2 separate regions of the Homo sapiens genome follow, and region 1 is linked to region 2. The links are contacts of gene promoters, found by promoter capture Hi-C in human tissues and cell types (Jung and others, 2019). All regions are on one chromosome and are shown on one strand. The core of a region is centred on a gene start or on the middle of the fragment in contact, and the rest is flanking DNA. Distances in the headings are between cores, read along the strand shown. Region 1 overlaps GRIP1 (glutamate receptor interacting protein 1). Region 2 holds the start of IRAK3 (interleukin 1 receptor associated kinase 3).

Region 1 (5,926 bases), core at 893-3,392, 430 kb before region 2:
TAGAGGGGGAGACAGCTAAGTAAACAGTAATTCTGTATAGTAAATCTTGTAGTAAACAACATATGGGGTGCCGCAGGAGCTCAAACTAGCACATCAACCCTTTCACTGCATGAATAGTAGGTGGAAATAGGAACAGATCATGTGAAACATCCCGAAAGAGGGGATGACTGGGTTGAGACTAGAAGGATGAGTATGAGTAAGGCAGGTATAGGGAAAATGAAGAGTATTTTAGAGACAGAGAATTCCAGATCATTGAAGTTAGATGGCAAGGGGGAAATGAAACTAAAAAAGTAGGCAGGGACCAGGTAACAGAGAAAACCATGTGCCATGTTGTCTGGACCTTAAGATCAATTGGAAACAGTATTCAGTTGCCTGGCATGCTTGCTCTTTAGCCTCTCACATTGTATATATATTTTTTGGTTTTAATGGGTACATAGTATGTATTCATGGGGTATATGAGATGTTTTAATACAGGTATATCATGTATAATAATTACATTAGGGTAAATGGGGTATCCAGCATCTCAATTATCTTTTTTTGTGTTGCAAACAATCCAAATATATTTCCTTATTTTTAAATGCACAATAAATTATTGTTGACTGTAGCCACCCTGTTGTGCTATCAAATACTAGATCTTATTAGATCTTATTCATTCTATCTATATTTTTGTACCCATTACCCATCCCCACTTCCTCTCCCTCCTCCATCACATTGTATTTGTTTGGAATTTATTTGGGGCAAAAGTGACTTGTAGCATAACTCAAGGGTTCTGCTTAGAAATTAATTGTATTATAGGTTAATCAAAGTGGAATCAGTACAGTGATTTCTTGGATATGACACCAAAAGCACAGCCACCAGAAGAAAAAAAAGGATAAACTGGACTTCTCCAAATTAAAACCTTTTGTACATCAAAGTACATTATTGACAGAATGAAAAGGCAACCCATGGAATGGGAGAAAATATTTGCAGATCATATATCTGACAAAGAATATCCAAAATATATAAAGAATTTTACAACTCAACAGCAAAAGCAAAAACAAACAACCTAACTCAAAGATGGGCAAAGGACTGGAAAAGACCTTTGTCGAAAGAAGATACACAAATGGGCCATAAGCACAAGAAAAGATACTCAGCAATACTAGACATTAGGGAGATGCAAATCAAAACCATAGTAAGATAGCACTTTATATCCATTAGGATGGCTATTAAAAAACAGAAAATAGCAAGTATTAGCAGGAATGTGGAGAAACTGTAACCCTTTTGCATTACTAGAGGGAATATAAAATAGTGTAGCTGCTGTGGAAAACAGTTTGGGGATTCCTCAAAAACTTAAACATAGAATTAACATATGATCCACAATTCCACGCCTACATATATACCCCAAAGAATTGAAAGCAGGGACTCAAACAGATACTTGTACCTCACTGTTCAGAGCAGCATTATTCACAATAGCCAAAAGGTGGACACGAGCCAAATGTCCATCAACAGATGAATAAACAAAATGTATACATACAAGGGAATATTATTCAGCAATAAAAGGTAATGCAGTTTGATACATCTTGAAATGTGGATACACTTGGAAGACATTATGCTAAGTGAAAAGGCCAGATACAAAAGGACACACATTATGTCACTGCCCTATGTGAGTTGCCTAGAATAGGCAAATTCATAGAGACAGAAAGTAGAATAGAGGTTACCAGGAACTGTGGGGGGACAATGGGAAGTTATTGTTTAATTAGTACAAAGTTTCAGTTTGGGATGATAAAAAAAAGTTCTGAAGATAATAGGGGTGATGGGTGCACAACACTGTGAATGTACTTAATGTTGTTGAACTGTATACTTAAAAATTGTTAAAATGAACAATTTGTGTTATGTCTATTTTACCATAATATAAAAAATGTAAATGAAATCGCTCTGCTTTGCAATTTATAAAATGCTTTTCCAAAAATATGTTAAAACTTTTCTAAATACAGTAATTTCTGAAAACTTAATTTATTCATTATCTTTTGCCTCTGGGATTTGGAAGAGTCTAAACCTGAGTGAATTAGGGAAGTTTGGGCAGGAAAAGTGAATCATCATGCTGCAGCCTCCAGTCTTCAAAAGAATTTCTACAACCAACCCTTAATTTATGATGAGGAAGAAGCAGCTTATGCACCACTCTTCCCCCTCCTCCCCTGGCCATTAAAAGTCTGGGGGGGAGGGGTTGGGGGGGTGAGGGGTGGGAAGAGTGTCATAAGAAGAGAAAGAGAGCGAGAGGGAGAAAAGGAAGGAAGGAAGGCAGGAAGGAGAAATAAAGAAAAAGAAAAAAAAGAAAAAGAAAGAGAAAGAATGCACTGATCAGCAGCTTTGTAAAGGCACAGTATCCTCAGAGAGCTATTACCTGGAGTGTAAAATCAATCCCACCAGCTTCTTAGCCATGTTTATTGTTCTTTGAACATCTCTTATTGTTAACATCAGCCTGATAATGAAGTAGAATGTCCAGAAGGTGAGAGTGGAAGCTTTCCCATGGTTCTAAAGCAGCCTACTCAGGAATGTGAATCAAAGGAAAATCAATTCATTGCTCCACTCATGGCTGAAAATTATATTGTCCTTTTGGGTACAGGGAATCAAAGGTCCTGGATGGTGGCATTGCATCCATGTGTCTTCATAACTAACATTGAACCTAATTTTGAGAGCTCCCTCAGCAGATCATTGGCAGAAATCATCAAAATACCTTTAGGCCCTAGCTAGTCACTCTTGAGAGGAATTGAATGACTCATTTTAATCTAAGACTGCCAGGGTACCGTTACTTGCACATATTCATATTCTTCAGGATGTGTGGAGCACACAATTTGTGAAGTCATGAACTGAGTTTGAATCTCTGCTCCACTACTTTCTACCTATGTAAACTTGAGCAGGTAGCTTAATGCCTCTGAGCTTTGATCTCCATATATTATCTGTATTATATGGATGATAGCGACTCATCAAATGAAGTAATGGATGTAAAGTCTCACTGAAATTATGAAATGTTTTCTAAAGAAGAGTTGTTGCTACTAGAGGTTTTTAAGAGGCAGTAAGTTCAACCCCAAAGGATCAATTACTTTTACTTCCCCTTTAACAATTAAAAACAATATAATAGTAACTGGTATTTTAAAATCTTACCCTTTTTAACCCTCTGTACATGCAGAATTTCCTTTGGATGTTGCTCTTTCACTGGACAATAAAATTAGATGGATAATATCTAGTCATCTGTTTTTTGCAACCACTTTTAGAAGGTTTTTGCTTCATAATTGCCCTCAAATCTTTTTATTTCCTCCTTTTGGTTTTCTTGCACAAAGCAGATAAAAATTAAAAAGTTTAATAAATTGGCCATTGTGTAACCCTCATTGATTTTATTTCCATGTTCATGTATGGCCCTTTTTTCTTTTACTTCTGGCACATGGCAACACTGGAACCTTACTGCTCTAATTTTTGAAGTGGGCCTTTAGTGCAAATTTTGTGGGCTGCTATTTTTGTCAAAGGTGCCACTAAGAGGAAAGAAAATAGTCCCTAAGTGTGGTTGATTTGTGGAGGGCAAGGAAATCTACCCGTAATGGCTCTCTTTCCTTATGTTCATTTTTTCTACTCTAGAATACTCATTAGGCCCTATGGTCTAGTACCTGGTTCTCATGGGTCATTTTAAAATTATGAATTATGAACATAATGTGCCCATCCAAAAGTACCTTTTATAGGCTTTGTACTCTGTTTTAAAAGAGAAATAGCACTCATATTTTAGTGCTGCTTGCTGCTCACCCTATGGATCCCAAACTATTTCTCTATTCACAGGGTTTACTTTGACTTTAATGTATATGTTCTAGTTTATCTTATTTTGTCTTATCTTGATCTTCATTCCTTGGGTTCTTTCTTTCATTTTTAATTGCACAAAGAAGACCTCAAACAACTGTAACAACAACAACAAAGCTTGAAGGAAACGTTGTTTACACTTTTATCTGAGTATTTGCTTCGGTTCATATCTGCCTGAACATCCTTTTTTGAAACAGAATAATACGAGTTCGAATTTCTCAGTATTCAAAACCTACGATAAATAAATATATTCTTTATTTATCCTACCAAGATGACGTGATAGCTACTGAACATCTCATTTTTTGTTTTTACTATAGATGATGATGGTGCTTGCCTTTTTTCAGCAGTCTCCATCCAATAAGCTTTAATTCCTAATTGTTTTACAAGTATGAAGTGAAGGAAAGTTCATTCACAACATGCATTAGTGGATATTGATAAATAAACATTTCATTATGCACATGTATTAATAAAATGTCTTTCAATGTTAATCTTTTTATATTTACTAGACTTTGTTGGCAAAGAAAGTTGCAAAAGATATTTTAAGTATATTCAGTAATATATATGCAATATGTTTTTGGAAAATTCAGAAATTATGACATCCTAATCAATCATGCTTTATTTTTACTTTTTTTTAATAGATAGATTCAAAGCAGGTAGTTTCTAGTACAGCCTTATGATTCAAAGCTCAAAACATATGAGAAGATATATGGTGAAAAGATTCACTCTCCTCCATATCCCCCACCAGCCAGTTTCTACTTCGTACACAAAATGAAAACCACTTTTATTGGTTTCTTAGAATTCTTCCAGATGTTCTTTATGCAAATAGAAGCAACTATAAATTTATATTCGTAATTTTCTGTTTTTAAAACAAAATATAGCATATGCACACTGCTCTGCACTTCGCTGCTTCCACTGAAAATATATCTTGGAGATCTTTGCATGTTGGCACAACAGGTGCCTGTCACTACACCTACTGATTTCTTGTTGTTGTACTACTCTATTTAGCCAATTCTTTATTTAGAAACATTTGAGTTGTTTCCAGTCTGTTTGAAGTTTTGAGCTATTTCAAATATTGTGTTATTATGAAATTGCTATAACGAATATATTTATTATGTACATGGGAAGACATATCTGTAAGATAAATCACAGTAGTAGAATTCTGGGTCAAATGGTATATGCATGTATAATGTTGATAAATACTGCCAAGTTGTCCTCTTTAAAGGTTATATCAGATCATATTCCCACCTGAAATGTATGAGAGTAAGTTTCCCCACAGCCTGAAAAGCATGTATGTTGATCAACTTGCAAGTTTTTGCTAATCTAAGAAGTGAAAAAGATTATATTTCCTGTGGCTTTAATATGCATTTCTTATGAGTGAAGTTGAACATCTTTTCTTTCATGAGCCAGTAGTATTTCTTTTTCTGTGAATTTCTGTTAATAACATAAGCCCATTTTATAATGTTTTTTGGTTATGATGTGTTAAAATCAAGAATAAGTTAATATCCCAGATTTGGAATATCTTAAAAACTGAGCTCTAATCAAAGCCAGTCTCTCTGTGGCCAGACTCTTGGAATATGTCCACTGTGGGTAGTAAAGTGGGATATTCAGATCATCCCTGGAACTTCCACTTTCTTTGGAAAGTGGTTCTAATTAATATTGAGAGAAATAAAGAGAGAATGTGATGAAGCATTCATATTGCTAAATTAGTTCATGTGGTGATTCAAGTTCGCTGATATCATTAGCTTTGATTAAACATCATTCTTGTAAAAACAATTAAGAACTAAAGCCTATTAGATGGATAATGTCACTAAAGAAGACTAATAAGACCACCATTGCAGTAACTTGCAAGCATCTTTTTTTTTTTTTTTTTTTTTCTTGTTGGCTGTGTGGAGGAAACAGGCAGACCTGAGATGGATTCTTTTTGAATAATTAAAGCAAAGTTGTCTCTTGGTCCCAACACAGAGGTTATTTTCTGAAATGGAAAGGGACCTACAGTTATAACTCTCTTCACCTCCCCCATCTACACACGTGCAGACACACACACACACACACACACACACACACACACACACACAAAACGTCTGTTGCTTGTCAAGTTGCTCCC
Region 2 (5,420 bases), core at 26-2,525:
CCATCTCAAAAAGATCTGATGGGGAAGTGACCTTATCCCTCAAAATCCCTCAAATGCACACTGGAAATCTCGTTTTCTAGAAATCAGACTTTTTTTTTTTTCTTAAGGGCCATAACTTAAAATTACAGAGCTTAAAATATATAAACATTTTTTGTATAACCAGAAGCCCATTGCTACAATTCAAAGACTGTCACCATACTGTTCATCAGTAACAAAGAAAACTCTCCTCTTAGGCCTTCTGCTAGTCCTGGTAAGAAAAATCCTATTTCAGACCATTAAAGCTAAGTTATTTTGACATAATCATGATTCTTTTCAATAAACATTAAACATGACATTGTGGAATATCAAATCTAACCAAAAATGCCTGTACTTAACAAAACGAAGATTTTTGTCCGAATTATCTCTGGCTACACTCAACACTTCCAGCAGGCAGTTGCTCAACTTTCCAATGTCTGCATAAAATACAGTTCTGAAGCCAATTTTTTTAGATTAAAATAAAAAGCCACCCTTTAGCATAAACCTTCATTCAACGAAATTGGGTAAATAAGATTTAATTAAGAAAATTAGGAGCCGCGTTCATTGCAAACCGTAGTTTACTTTAGCATTTCACTTGTAATTAAGTTAGGGGCTTAGGGATGCATTGAAAACACCAAAGGATAAGTATCTCAAAGTTCTAAAAATGTCTCAATACTAAAATGATGTTCTGGGGTGATTTTGCAAGGACCAGAAGACATCATACATTGCGAACCCAGTGAGGGTGGCATCGCGGACGAACAGAAGATGCTTTCACGCTGGTTATCTGTCTTTCCCAGGCCTCGGCTCCCTTGACTTTGCAGCGATACCCAAAATTCTTTGAAAGAGAAGGGAGGGAAGGCATCTGGGTCCCAGGGAGTCTCTGCATCCAACCCAGGAAAGGAGGGGGCCGGCTCCCTGGCGGGAACTTCCCGGAGGCCGCGCCAGCCCCGCGAGGGACCCCAGCCATGCAGGGCGACGCCGAGCGGGCCCCGCGGCGCGCTGGGCTCCCCCGCCGCCCCCGGCCGGTCCCCGCCGACTCACCCAGGCCGCGCCAGCCCAGCGCGCCGTCGCAGCTGTCCAGAACAGCGCAGAGCTCTCCGAGCAGCGCGGGCGGCAGGTCGAACAGCAGCGTGTGCGCCGACAGCGCGCCGCGGGCCCCACAGTTCCCCGCCATGGCTCGGCTGCCCGAGCCCCGGGGACGAGGCGGAGTCCAGGTCCCTGCACGCCTGCGACAGGCCGTTACACAACCGCGGAAATCCTGCTTCCACGACGGCAGCAGAGCCCTAGGAACACGCCGTTCTCCGGTCACTGCAGGGGCGGTGCCCACGTGACGCAAGGCGCGCCTCGCCCGAGATGCCCCTGCGTCCGCCTGGCCAGGCCTGGGGGTTACCCGACCCGGGTTCTCCCTTCGCTGGCTTTGCGCCCCTTCACACCTCTGCGGTGGGGACGGAGCTGCCGAGACAAGCAGAGTGCGAACTGGAGAAAGCCCAGAGCTCAGAGCTCCCAGGAGCCCACCGTGCCCCACGGCTAGGCGGTCTCCTGGTGTGGACGGCTAGCGGTGTCATTACTTCTTACAAAAGTTTATTTTTGAAAGCTTCTCCCTTCCTTCCTTCTTCCCTTCCTTTCTTTTCTTCCTTTTTTCTTTGTTTTGAGTCAGGTTCTCACTCTGTCGCCCAGGCAGGAGCGCAGTGGCGCTATCTCAGCTCACGGAGCCTCCACCTATTGGGCTCAAGCGATCCTCCCACCTCAGCCTCCCGAGTAGCTGGGACCACAGTCGCACGCCACCACGTCCGGCTAATTATTTTTTTTCGTTTTTCGTAGAGAGGGAGTGTCGTTATGCTGCCCAGGCTGGTTTCAAACTCCTGGCCTCAAGCGATCCTCCCACCTCCGGCTTCCCAAAGTGCTGGGATTCGGGGTGTTAGCCACTGTCCCGGACTACTTCTTTTTTATCCTGTCAGAAAAACTATCCATGTTCATCGAGGAACACTTGGAAAACCCAGAAAAAAACTGAAAAAAGAAGATAATCACTCACAACCCCACTCAGCCCATCACACTCTAAAAGTTTTGACACATTTTCCTCCCAACTTTTACTGAATTTAAACAGATAAAAATGTACATATATGGGATTATTATTGGAAAAGATGAATGTAGATACCAACAAGAGAAAAACAGAAAAGACACCAAATCAGCGTAAAATTATGTTCGTTTTCTTCACGAGGCGGCCTCTCCTCCATACACCTACTTGGTTTTAATAAATTTTCTTCCTCATGGGCTTCCTTGATGAAATATCGTTCCATCATTTTTTCCTTCCTCAAAGTGCTTCACACAATCTTCCTTTTTGCCTTCAACATGGAGTTTAAGTAAAATTGTTGTTTTGAAATCTTCACGGAGTTTAAGTAAAATTGTTGTTTCAAAATCTTCTAGGTCACATGAGGCATGTTACCAGTGACAAAAAGTTGTTTTGAAAGTGGTGAGAAAAATCTCAGCCTTAGTGACTGGAAGAGTGGGCAGTGGCCATCAAGTGAAAACACCAGAGGTGTTTTGAAACCTCTCAGATTGTAGTCTTTGGAATAGCTGCCCCTAGAGATCACGAGTGATGAAACACTATCATTTCATGCCCCTACCTGAATGGTTTTGCCAGCGAAAATACTTCATAAAAATGTATCTGAAAACTGGCAAAGCCCATACTGTGTGGGCAAGAATTTCGATATCCCGTTGTTCAAGGTTTTATTGTCAATCTGTACACACTGTACACCTACCTACCTTCCTTCCTTCCTTCCTTCCTTCCCTCCTTTCTTCCTTCCTTCCCTCCTTTCTTTCTTATTTGTTTTTTTTAGTCGCTCTGATTGCCCAGGTTGGGGTGCAATGGTGCGATCTCGGCTCACTGCAACTTCCACCCCCTGGGCTCAAGCCATCCTCCCACCTCAGCCTCCAGTACAGCTGGGACTACAGGTGCATGCCACCATGCCTGGCTAACCTTTGTAGTTTTTGTAGAGACGGGGTTTTCCCATGTTGCTCAATCTGGTCTCAAACTCCTGGGCTCAAGTGATCCACCTCCCTAGGCCTCCCAAGGTTCTGGGATTACAGGCATGAGCCACCACACCCGGCCCTCTATACATCTCTTAAAGGGACTACCTGAACATGCTGAGCAACAGAGGCAAAAGGCCATTAATTATTTGGTAGCTTTTGAATTGCTACTACAGGGAGGCAAACTCACTCAGAGGAAACAGGAAATCACTGCAGATGAGGGAAGCAATCAGAAAGGCCTGCTTTACCAGATCTTGTAATTTACCAAGAAGCAAGGATCCTAAGTGAAAGCTAGAGTATGTGAAATTTCCTGTATTTTCAGTGTTGGCAGTCGTTCTCAGACCATGTTGCCTTCCTATTCCTAAAACTGTCTTGAGTTTTGATTTTTATATCATCAGGTTGTATCATCATGGTTGCTATCAACTGCTGATCTCCCCGACTCCAATTCCTTCTCCTCGTTTTTAGACTCTCTAGCTCCTGGCTCATTGTTGCTCTCTCCAGTACTAATCCTATCTTAGTTCTCAGTGATTTAAAATATATGTAGAATAACTATTCACAATAGCAAAGACATGGAATCAAGCCAAATGCCCATCAATGATAGACTGGATAAAGAAAACGTGGTATGTATACACCATGGAATACTATGCAGCCATAAAAAGGAATGAGATCATGTCCTTTGCAGGGATAGGGATAGAGCTGGAGGCCATTATCCTCAGCAAACTAACACAGGAACAGAAAATCAAATACTGCATGTTCTCACTTATAAGTGGGAGCTGAACCATGAGAACACATGGACACTTGGTGGGGAACAATGCATACTGGGGCCTGTCAGGGGAGGGGGTAGGGGGAGGCAGTGAATCAGAAGCAATAGCTAATAGATGCTGGGCTTAATACCTAGGTGGTGGGATCATCTGTGCAGCAAACCACAATGGCACATATTTACCTATGTAACAAACTGCACATCCTGCACATGTACCCTAGAACTTAAAATAAAAGTTGATGAAACAAAATTAAAACATACACACACACACACACACACACACACATATATATATATATATATGTAGAATAGATGGTGATCTTTCCAATGCCCTGGCCTCTCATTTCCTTGACTCCTCTTCTCTGGTGACATTGTACTCCACCCAATGCTCCATTTCAGACACTTACTCCCATGAGCGTCCCCTAGAATTTGTCATTATCAATAGCTGCATCCCATCTATAATTTCTTTCATGAATCCACTCTCTGATCATACCTCCTGTCTTTCTAGCACATTCCCTCTAGTACTCTGACCCCAACAATCCTGTCCCTTCACCAGATATCCAATCCAAAATCTTGCTGCCTCTTTTCTGGCTCCACCCTCTTGACATCCTGACTTTTCTGCTTATCCATTAAGTCTGTGGTCAATTATTTTATTCACTCCTTTGCATATGCTCTACATTCCCTTGCTCCTCTCTCACTTTGTTGAGCTCTCTTGGCAAGTTTGCAATTCTGATTAAATCCAATTTTCTAAGTTGGCTCCACACCCATGCACCTGAGTGTAGCTGGGGAACGGGGTGGAAAACCAAAATCCTGTTAATTGAACTCAATTTAAAATCAAGGCCAAGACTCTCAAGTGGGTCCTTTATGCCACTGGACAAGCATACTATGCACCTTTAGCCCATGCATTCTTCTGGTCTCCTTGAAAGCTATGCTATACTTTCTTTTTTCTCAACTCCCATCATCCTGTCCTCCACCAATTATCTTGAGAATATTTATTGAGAATACTGATGCATCAGGAAAAAACTTCCACGGAATCTCACTACTACATCGAACTATCTACTAGCATCTTTGCCAACATACTCTTTCTTCGTGTTTTCCATGGATGAATTATCTAGGGTCCTATGTAAATCATTATACTTCGTTTGTGCACTGGATCCTATCCCTATTACCATTTCAAAGGCATCAAGGGCACATGCTTTCCCTGGTCCCTGTTACATGATCAGTTTTTCACTCTTTACCACCTCAATTCCATCAGCATACAAATATGATGTTGTTTCTTTCAACTTAAACCAAAATTTTTTTAAATTTTATTATTATTATACTTTAAGTTTTAGGGTACATGTGCACAACGTGCAGGTTTGTTACATACATATACATGTGCCATGTTGGTGTGCTGCACCCATTAACTCATCATTTAGCATTAGGTATATCTCCTAATGCTATCTCTCCCCACTCCCCCCACCCCACAACAGGCCCTGGTGTGTGATGTTCCCCTTCCTGTGTCCATGTGTTCTCATTGTTCAATTCCCACCTATGAGTGAGAACACGTGGTGTTTGGTTTTTTGTCCTTGCGATAGTTTGCTGAGAATAATGGTTTCCAGTTTCATCCATGTCCCTA

Evidence for each region. Contacts are between HindIII fragments. The study calls those that stand out against the background at their distance.
Region 1: a fragment that was not itself captured here is called in contact with the fragment with the promoter of IRAK3 in region 2 in 1 of the 25 tissues and cell types used here (lymphoblastoid cells).

What each region holds. Positions count from the first base shown.
Region 1 is chr12:66,617,057-66,622,982 of GRCh38, reverse strand. The region is part of intron 1 of GRIP1 (glutamate receptor interacting protein 1); the gene reads left to right. Among named protein-coding and RNA genes, the nearest start is that of GRIP1, 59 kb to the left of the region's middle. The HindIII fragment of the contact is 3,841 bases long and covers 222-4,062 here.
Region 2 is chr12:66,185,069-66,190,488 of GRCh38, reverse strand. IRAK3 (interleukin 1 receptor associated kinase 3) reads right to left here and starts at 1,275. Exons shown (of 12, transcript NM_007199.3): 1 at 1,057-1,275. The coding sequence starts at 1,189. RefSeq lists silencers at 941-1,100, 1,121-1,170. The HindIII fragment of the contact is 8,386 bases long and covers 1-4,880 here.